3 separate regions of the Homo sapiens genome follow, and regions 1 and 2 are each linked to region 3. Evidence: promoter capture Hi-C in human tissues and cell types (Jung and others, 2019). All regions are on one chromosome and are shown on one strand. The core of a region is centred on a gene start or on the middle of the fragment in contact, and the rest is flanking DNA. Distances in the headings are between cores, read along the strand shown.

The links. Contacts are between HindIII fragments. The study calls those that stand out against the background at their distance.
Region 1: the fragment with the promoter of MIB2 here is called in contact with the fragment with the promoter of ATAD3A in region 3 in 1 of the 25 tissues and cell types used here (mesendoderm cells).
Region 2: a contact is called between a fragment that was not itself captured here and the fragment with the promoter of ATAD3A in region 3, in 11 of the 25 tissues and cell types used here (IMR-90 fibroblasts, adrenal gland, aorta and 8 more).

What each region holds. Positions count from the first base shown.
Region 1 is chr1:1,614,210-1,616,909 of GRCh38, reverse strand. MIB2 (MIB E3 ubiquitin protein ligase 2) reads right to left here and starts at 1,410. Exons shown (of 20, transcript NM_001170687.4): 1 at 1,277-1,410; 2 at 296-402. RefSeq lists silencers at 476-565, 596-1,645 and an enhancer at 1,746-1,915. The HindIII fragment of the contact is 4,042 bases long and covers 1-2,700 here.
Region 2 is chr1:1,583,011-1,585,710 of GRCh38, reverse strand. No RefSeq gene overlaps it. Among named protein-coding and RNA genes, the nearest start is that of SSU72-AS1, 9.4 kb to the right of the region's middle. The HindIII fragment of the contact is 3,924 bases long and covers 1-2,700 here.
Region 3 is chr1:1,510,891-1,513,590 of GRCh38, reverse strand. It overlaps ATAD3A (ATPase family AAA domain containing 3A), which reads right to left and starts at 1,429. Exons shown (of 16, transcript NM_001170535.3): 1 at 1,118-1,429. The coding sequence starts at 1,322. RefSeq lists silencers at 1,312-1,471, 1,922-2,121 and an enhancer at 1,622-1,681. The HindIII fragment of the contact is 15,639 bases long and covers 1-2,700 here.

The DNA of each region.
Region 1 (2,700 bases), core at 161-2,660, 100 kb before region 3:
CAGGGTGGAACCGGACAAAGGGGGCCTCCCGGGAAGGGCCAGGCTTGCCGGCGCTCCTGCGCTGCGGCCGCTCTGCCCCAATCCTGCAGGTGCCTATCAGAGGCCTGTCTGGCACCTCTGCTTTCTTCCTCCATGGGTTCCGAACTCAGAGAGGAGACGCGGGATTACTCACCACTCCCCTCCACTCGCATGCATGCTCAGACACAAACACAGCCTCTCTGACGTGGCTTCCACGGAGCCCCAAAGTGGGAGAGCCAAGTGCAAACTATCAGGCCGCGGACGATCAAGAGCTCACCTGTCCGGCCGTCCAGTCGCCCGCCGGGCCGCCTTGAGGCTCCTGGGCTGCAGCCCTGATGCCTGGAAACTTTGGGACTGGCCTCTAGCCTCGCTGGGCTTCCAACCCTGTGGCCGAGGGGAGATGCCAAGATGCACAGTTAGCACCTCGACCCGCGGCTCGGTCGCCTGTCTGCCCCCGGGGCTGCCCGCCGGCTCCAGGTCCACTCGGGCCCACGGCCGCGACACTCAGGGCCGCCGCCTGCCCGGATGGGCTCCCTGGGGTCTGAGCGCGCAGGAGCCGCCAGCGCCGGGCCCGTAATTGCGTGCGCCCGGGGTCTGGCGGCCGCGGCTCGCAGACGTCAGGAGGCTCCGGGACGCGCACGGGCGCCGGCGCAGGGGAACGGGCGGGCCAGGGGCGGGCACGGCGGGCACCCCCACCCGGAGCGCGCCCCGCCCCCTGTCATTCGTGCCCGTGGCTCGCGGAGGCCGCCCGGCCCTGTCCGCTGCCAGACCTTGCCAGGGCCGCGCAGTACCTGCCGACCCCAACTTGCCCGGACGTTTCCGTCCCGCCCGCTCCGCTCGGGGGCGCGGGACCGCCGGCCAGTCCGTCTGTCGGTCTGTCCCGGCGTTCGAGGCCACCCACCGGCCCCGACTGCTCAGCGGCGGCCAGGCCAGGCCAGAGCGCCTGCCGCGCGCCGCAGCCCACCCGGCCCGGACGACGACCCCAGCGCCGACCCCAGCGCCGCTGGCCCCGGGCCGCGCGAGGCCTGCCGGGAGCTGGAGTCCCGCGCGGGTGGCCGGACCACAACTCCCAGGAGGCCCCGCGGCGGCGCTGCGCGCGCAGCCCCAGCCCATCCCGTGCGGACCCTACGCCGAGTCCAGCCCGGGGCTGCTGGGCCAGCGGGAGCGGGAACCGGACGGCGCTCGCGTTCTGCCAGAGCGGAGAACGACTCGGGGACGGTGCGGAGGACCAGGGGAGGAGATCCGCGCCCGCACGCACCATCAGCCGAGAGGACGGCCCGCATCGCGCCAGTGACCTAGGAGCGACTCGGGGACGGCTTCGGGCTCCCAGGCCCTCCTGGGCCACCGGGCACTGAGGAGAGCGGCGGCTGGAAACTGTGGGACCCGAAGGGCGGGAGCCCAGGGCCCGCCCCCGCCGGAGCGCCCCCGCCATGGCCACGCCCCCGCCACGGGGATGGGCAGGGCAAGCACCGGAAGTGCGTCACGCGGGAGCGTCTGCGTCGCCTACCCTGCGTGGCGCAGCTAGGTTCCGAGCGGCTTAGCCTCCGGGCGCCTGCGCAGTGGCGGTCCTAGAGACGCACTCGGTTGCCATAGAGACGGGGGCTTGGGAGCGACGTCGCGCTCGCTGGCACTGGCGGCACTTGCCGCGCCGCAGCCACCTCTTTCCGACTCCACCAGTGCGGGCCCTATCCGGGGTTTTGAGTCACGCAGACCTGGACACAGCGAGAAACGGCAGTCCGGGCCCGTCCTCCCGCCCCGGGTTCTGCACCCCAGAGTTGGACGCTTGCTTCTCGCTTTCTCCTGAGAGAAGTCTCCGCGTTTCTGAACAATGCACTGCTAGTTTCTCATTTCTTTCTTTCTTTCTTTTTTTTTTTTTGGAGACGGAGCCTCGCCCTGTCGCCCAGGCTGGAGTGCAATGGCGCGATCTCGGCTCATTGCAACCTCCGCCTCCAGGGCTTAAACTATTCTCTTGCTTCAGCCTCCCGAGCAGCTGGGACTACAGGCATGCGCTACCACGCACAGCTAATTTTTGCATTTTTAGTCAAGACGGGGTTTCACCATTTTGGCCAGGCTGATTTCGAACTCCTGACCTCGTGATCTGCCCTCCTAGGGCTCCCAACGTGCTGGGATTATAGGCGTGAGCCACCGCGCCCGGCCTCTCATTTCTTAATTGTAGACATTGCGTACTTCCGGAGAAGGTCCCTGAGAACCTGGCTGATCTTCCCCGCTGCACCCCTCACGTGGTCCTGTTAGCTCCCAAACTGTCAACCTGAAAGGAAACCCAGAGGCAGGCTCTCCAGGACAAGTGAGTTAATCTGGGAATCGCAGGGGGTTGCAGCCTAGGCTGTTCGTGCCATGACAGATCATAGGCCTATCTGAGAGGGCCGGGCGAAGGGGAAAATACAGATGAGCTCACAAAAGTTGTTTTGTAACAAAAACCACTGGCTGTGGGCGCTTGCTGCAGGAGTGGGCGTTAGCTTGTTGTTGGAGAGAGCCTTACCAGGCCGACGTCCTTGTGCAAGCTGCTTATCTAGAATACTGCAGTCCTGAGGAATTTCCCTGCAGTAAGTCCGGTTACAGGCAAACGTGCAGGACGTGCAGGAGCGTCTTGTGAGGAGGCCTGCTGCAGGTATTCCTGCATGAGAGCTCCCCCTTCGTGGCCTCCCGACTCCATTTGTTTAG
Region 2 (2,700 bases), core at 85-2,584, 72 kb before region 3:
CAGGTGGATCACGAGGTCAGAAGTTCGAGACCATCCTGGCTAACACGGTGAAACCCTGTCTCTACTAAAAATACAAAAAATTAGCCGGGCGTGGTGGCGGGTGCCTGTAGTCCCAGCTATTTGGGAGGCTGAGGCAGGAGAATGGCGTGAACCTGGGAGGCAGAGCTTGCAGTGAGCTGAGATTGCGCCATTGCACTCCAGCCTGGGCGACACAGCGAGACTCCATCTCAAAAAAAAAATTAGCCAGGCGTGGTGGCGGGCACTTGTAGTCCCAGCTACTTGGGAGGCTGAGGCAGAAGAATGGCATGAACCCGGGAGGTGAAGCTTGCAGTGAGCCGAGATTGCACCACTGCACTCCAGCCTGGGCAATAGAGCAAGACTCCGTCTCAAAACAAACAAACAAACAAATAAACAAACAAAAAAAGTTAGCTGGACATGGTGGCATGCACCTGTAATCCCAGCTAGTCTAGAGGCTGAGGCAGGAGAATCGCTTGAACTCACAAGGCAGAGGTTGCAGTGAGCCAAGATTGCACCGCTGCACTCCAGCCTGGACTGCAGAGTGAGATTCTGTTTCAAAAGAAAACAAAACAACAACGAAAGTTACTGGGTCTGTCGCCACCATCTGAAACAGTGGTCCATGTGCTTGACAATTCCTGATAGGATCTATGGAAGCTTCTTTGCTCTTCAGAAAATAAGAAGAAATGAAATGGGATTCTCAAACATTAAGTCACAGCAGATTTTTTGGTTCTCCAGCAGGCTATATTATGGCCCAACTTGGGCAAACTGTACTTATTTATCTTTCTTTTTAATTTTTCTCAGCTTCTGTTCTGCTCTAACTCAGGCACATTTTAAAACTGATGGGTGGCCAGGCACGGTGGCTCACGCCTGTAATCCCAACACTTTGGGAGGCTAAAGTGGGAGGATCACGAGGTCAGGAGTTCGAGACCAGCCTGGCCAACATGGTGAAACCCCGTCTCTACTAAAAATACAAAAAATTAGCCAGGCGTGGTGGCACACGCCTGTAATTGCAACTACTCAGGAGGCTGAGGCAAGAAAATTGCTTGAACCCGGGACGCAGAGGTTGCACTGAGCCAAGATCATGCCACTGCACTCCAGCCTGGTCGACACAGCAAGGCGCTGTCTCAAAAACAAAAACAAAAACAAAAAAACCCCAAAACTGGCCGGGCACGGTGGCTCACGCCTGTAATCCTGGCACTTTGGGAGGCTGAGGTGGGTGGATCACAAGGTCAGGAGACTGAGACCATCCTGGCTAATCGGTGAAATCCCGTCTCTACTAAAAATACAAAAAATTAGCCGGGTGTGGTGGTGGGTGCCTGTAGTCCCAGTTACTCGGGAGGCTGAGGCAGGAGAATGGTGTGAACCTGGGAGATGGAGCTTGCAGTAAGCTGAGATTGCGCCACTGCACTCCAGCCTGGGCCACAGCGAGACTCCGTCTCAAAAAAAAAAAAAAAAAATTAATTGGCGGGCGCGGTGGCTCACGCCTGTAATCCCAGCACTTTGGGAGGCCGAGGCGGGCGGATCATCTGAGGTCTGGAGTCTGAGACCAGCCTGACCAACATGGAGAAACCCCATCTCTACTAAAAATACAAAATTAATGGCGCATGCCTGTAATCCCAGCTACTCGGGAGGCTGAAGCAGAAGAATTGCTTGAACCCGGGAGACAGAGGTTGTGGTGAGCTGAGATCATGCCATTGCACTCCAGCCTGGGCAACAAGAGCAAAACTCCATCTCAAAAAAAAAAAAAAAATTTTTATGCTTTGGGGCAGTGGCAGTGGTAACGGGGCTGTGTGCAGGAGGAGCATCGATCGGGCAGGGTGGATGTGGGCTGGGGCAGCCCCGGGTCCCAGGCCCTGCAACGGTGTGCAGGGCGGGAGTGCCCAGTCGGGCTGCATTCCCAGGTGCACGGCGTGCCACTGAGCTGCTCACGTAGCTGCCACCATCTGTGCTGGGCCCAGCCGAGACGCAGAACCTCGTGGACATGACCTAGGAAGACCCAGACAGTGTGCCCCACGGATGTCCTGGATCAAAGGGACCCAGGTTGGTGATTACTTCTACTCCTTTGGCGGCTGTTATTGGCACGCAGCCTACCGGTAGCTGCAGCAAGGGCCATCCTGGACAAGCTTGTGCAGTCCACCCTCTCGGACCTCAGGGTGTACCTGGGGGCATCCACGCCAGACTTGTAGGAGCAGTCCCCATGGCACCGACTGACACTTCTAAGAGCCCAGAAGATACATCTGGCCCCCGTAGGCTGGGCTGGCAGAAGGGATAGCTGAGATGCGTTCTCTTTGCACTTGGTGGGGAGGGTCTGACTCGAGACACTTCCCCAACAGTAGGGAATAAAATTGTCATGGTTGAATAGACCGATTGTGGATTGTGTTCCATCTACTGAGACTGGCACACTGCCTCCTGAAATGAAAGTGGATCTCATCACCAGAGGAGAAATGAGGAACTGCGTATCAGCTAGCCTTCACTGTGTAACAGACCATCCCAAAATTTGGCAGCAAAAACAGGTCACGTATTTGTCCACAATTCTGTGGGTTGGCAATCTGCACTGGGCTCACCTGCGGACCCTCATGGAGCTGTGGTCATTTGTCACATCCGCTACACCTGGATGGTCTAGGACAGCCTGACTCACTTGTCTGGCAGGTGACAGGTTGTTGGTTGGGGTGGCCTGTCTAG
Region 3 (2,700 bases), core at 180-2,679:
CAAAAGCCTGATGGAGGGCTCCCCACGGTGCACCTGGAGACCCTGCCCCGGGCCCCGCTCCACCACAGAGAGGGCAGACCAAGGCACTGGCAACGCCGGCAGAGCGGACTGCGGGTCAGGAGCTCCGGGGCCGCCAGGACTGGAGCAACTCAGAGGCACAGGTCTGCACTATGGGGAGGCGGCCTGAGGCTGCTCAACCAGGCCTGTACCACTGCAGGGGGCCGCAGGCTGATCACTACGATTCAGCTTCTGGAAGTGGGAGAAGTTTCAATCTCTAAGTGAAGTTAGCGGGTGAAAACCCCCAGGAACTAGGACACAAAGGAACCCTCCAAATAAGCCTGCAGCAAGAAAGTCAGTCACCAACATCCGCTGTCCTCCGAGGTGCCCTGAAGTCCAGCCCTTGATTCCCATCCTAACCTGATGGTTAAAATTACCGAGGAAGGCCATGAGCAGCGGCTCACGCCTGTCATCCCAGCGCTTTGGGAGGCCGAGGTGGGCGAATCACCTGAGGCCAGAATTCAAGACCAGCCTGAACAACATGGTGAGTGCTCACACCCTGAGGGCCTTGGGTCAGGGGTTTACTCAAGCTGAGCAGCACGGCCTGGCCTGTGGCTTCACAGACCTCGCCGTGCAAATGCTAACGTCTTCCAACAAGAAGTGCAAATCTGCTAGTCTCGTTAGAATCAAGTAACTCTCAAATACGCTTCCCTTGTTACGTGGAAACTGCTAGCAACCACCCAACAAACCCATCTACCCATCTGGCCACGCCTTGGCCTGTGCCACGTGGAGGCGGCAAGCGCAGAAGGATCCCGCACGCTCGGCGGTAACTGAAGACCACGGCCAGCCCCAGACCCTGACCCCTGTAACCTATGAGCGCCACCTCCGCACCGCTTTCCGCACCTGACCCGCTCCTGACAGCTGCAGAGGTGCAAACGGGTGACGGAAAGAGTCCGATCCTCCCGGCACGCGACACGGCTCCGGCCGGGGGTGCTCCGGGGGCGCAGTCTCGCCCGGGAAGTGGCTGCCGACAGCGGCGAGGAGCGGCAAGGGCCAGGGCTCCCGCTTCCCCGGCCCGTCCCGCCCGCCCGCCCGCGCCGCCCCGCCCCGCCGCACTCACGCGAGTGCTCCAGCTCGCGCGCCGCCTTGGCGGCGCGCTCCAGGCCGGTGGGGTCGAAGTTGCTCCATTTGTCCTTGGGCGCCGGCCGGTCTCCCAACCCGCGGTCCCCGCCGCCCTCGGCCCCGGGCTGCGCGGGCGGCAAAGGCGGCGGCGGCCCCGCGCCTTCACCCTTGGGGCCCTTGTTAATGCCGAAGAGCCACGACATGCTCGCACCGCCGCCGCCGCTACCGCCGCCGGGACCCCCACCCGAGTCTGACTCGCGCGCGGCTGGGAGCAGCCTCCACGCGCCGCGAGCCGGTGGTCACCGCCACTGCGCAGGCGCCACACACACCCCTTCCTCCCGGCGATAGAAGCGCGTAAGGGACACGCGCGCAGCCCTTGGATTGGCCCCGAGGACAGTGACGCCATAGCGACGGCGCCGCGACTGCCGAACAGGCTTTGGGAGCCAGCGGGGCGGGAGCGGCGAAGCATCTGGCTACGGGAGCCACGCCGGGACAAAATTCCCGAGGGACGTAGGCGAACCCAAGGCAGCGTCAGCCCCGCGCCGCATCCGCGTGGGCTCCGTTGCTAGGGGCTCCGTTGCTAGGGGCTCCGAGGAGTTCCGGCCTTGGCGGCAGCGGGTGGCAAGTTTCCAGGGAGCCCCAAGGTTCTCGATCCGTGCGGCGGGGCGCCCTGCGGTGAGTCCAGGACGCAGAGAAGAGTCTCGCGGGAACCTCACCCGAGGCGGCACCGGCGCCCGGGCAAGCCGAGCCCTTCCGCGATGAGTCGGCGCCCTGGGGTCGCTGCGCCAAGAGCTCAGGAGAGGCGCCTCCCCTCCTCGGTGTCTCCGCAGCCCGCACGGCCCTCCCGCCCAAGACCCCGGGGCGACCCCTTCCCGCGTGGCGGGGCCAGCGAGCTCCTCTTGCGGGGCGTGGACGGGGCCGGGGTGCCCGGGCAGGCGCCGCCCCGGAGCCCACGGTCCACGCGCTCCCAGCGGCCCTGACTTTCTCCTTGATGGAACTGGTTGACTTCACGGAATATATGGAGTGACTTTTCCCACTGGATTGGAAACTGTTTTAAGCCTGAATAATGTTAGATACAATGAGTTCTAAACTTCCCTTCAAAGAATCAGTATATCAGTATGTTCAGTCTTTGTCCTGCATTTTAAAGTCTACCTTCCTCGCAGTTTCAGTAAACAACCTTTTCCACCAGTTCTAGTCAGTAGTTGACATCTGTTGCCCTGGTCACCTGCTCCGTCCTAACTAATCCCGGTCTCCTGCTTTGACCTGAGTCACCTTTAGTTACCTGTCCCATAACCATTTTTCCCGCCAAACCACTCACCCCGCCACTCTGGCCCATACTCCTGCTCCCTTTAAAATAGCCAATGGGCACTAGTTTAGACTGTGCATTCTAACCCTAGCCAATAGGGGAACCACACAGCAGTAGGGGCTACCCGCGTCAGGAATAAGAACCCCTTCCCCTCCCTTGTCCAAGCGCTCGCCATTGCTCCATCTATGAGATGTCCCCTTCTATAGAAGTAAATTATCTAGCTGAGAAAAATTTATATTCGAGTTCTACTTCTTTGGCGGCACAGAAAATTTACA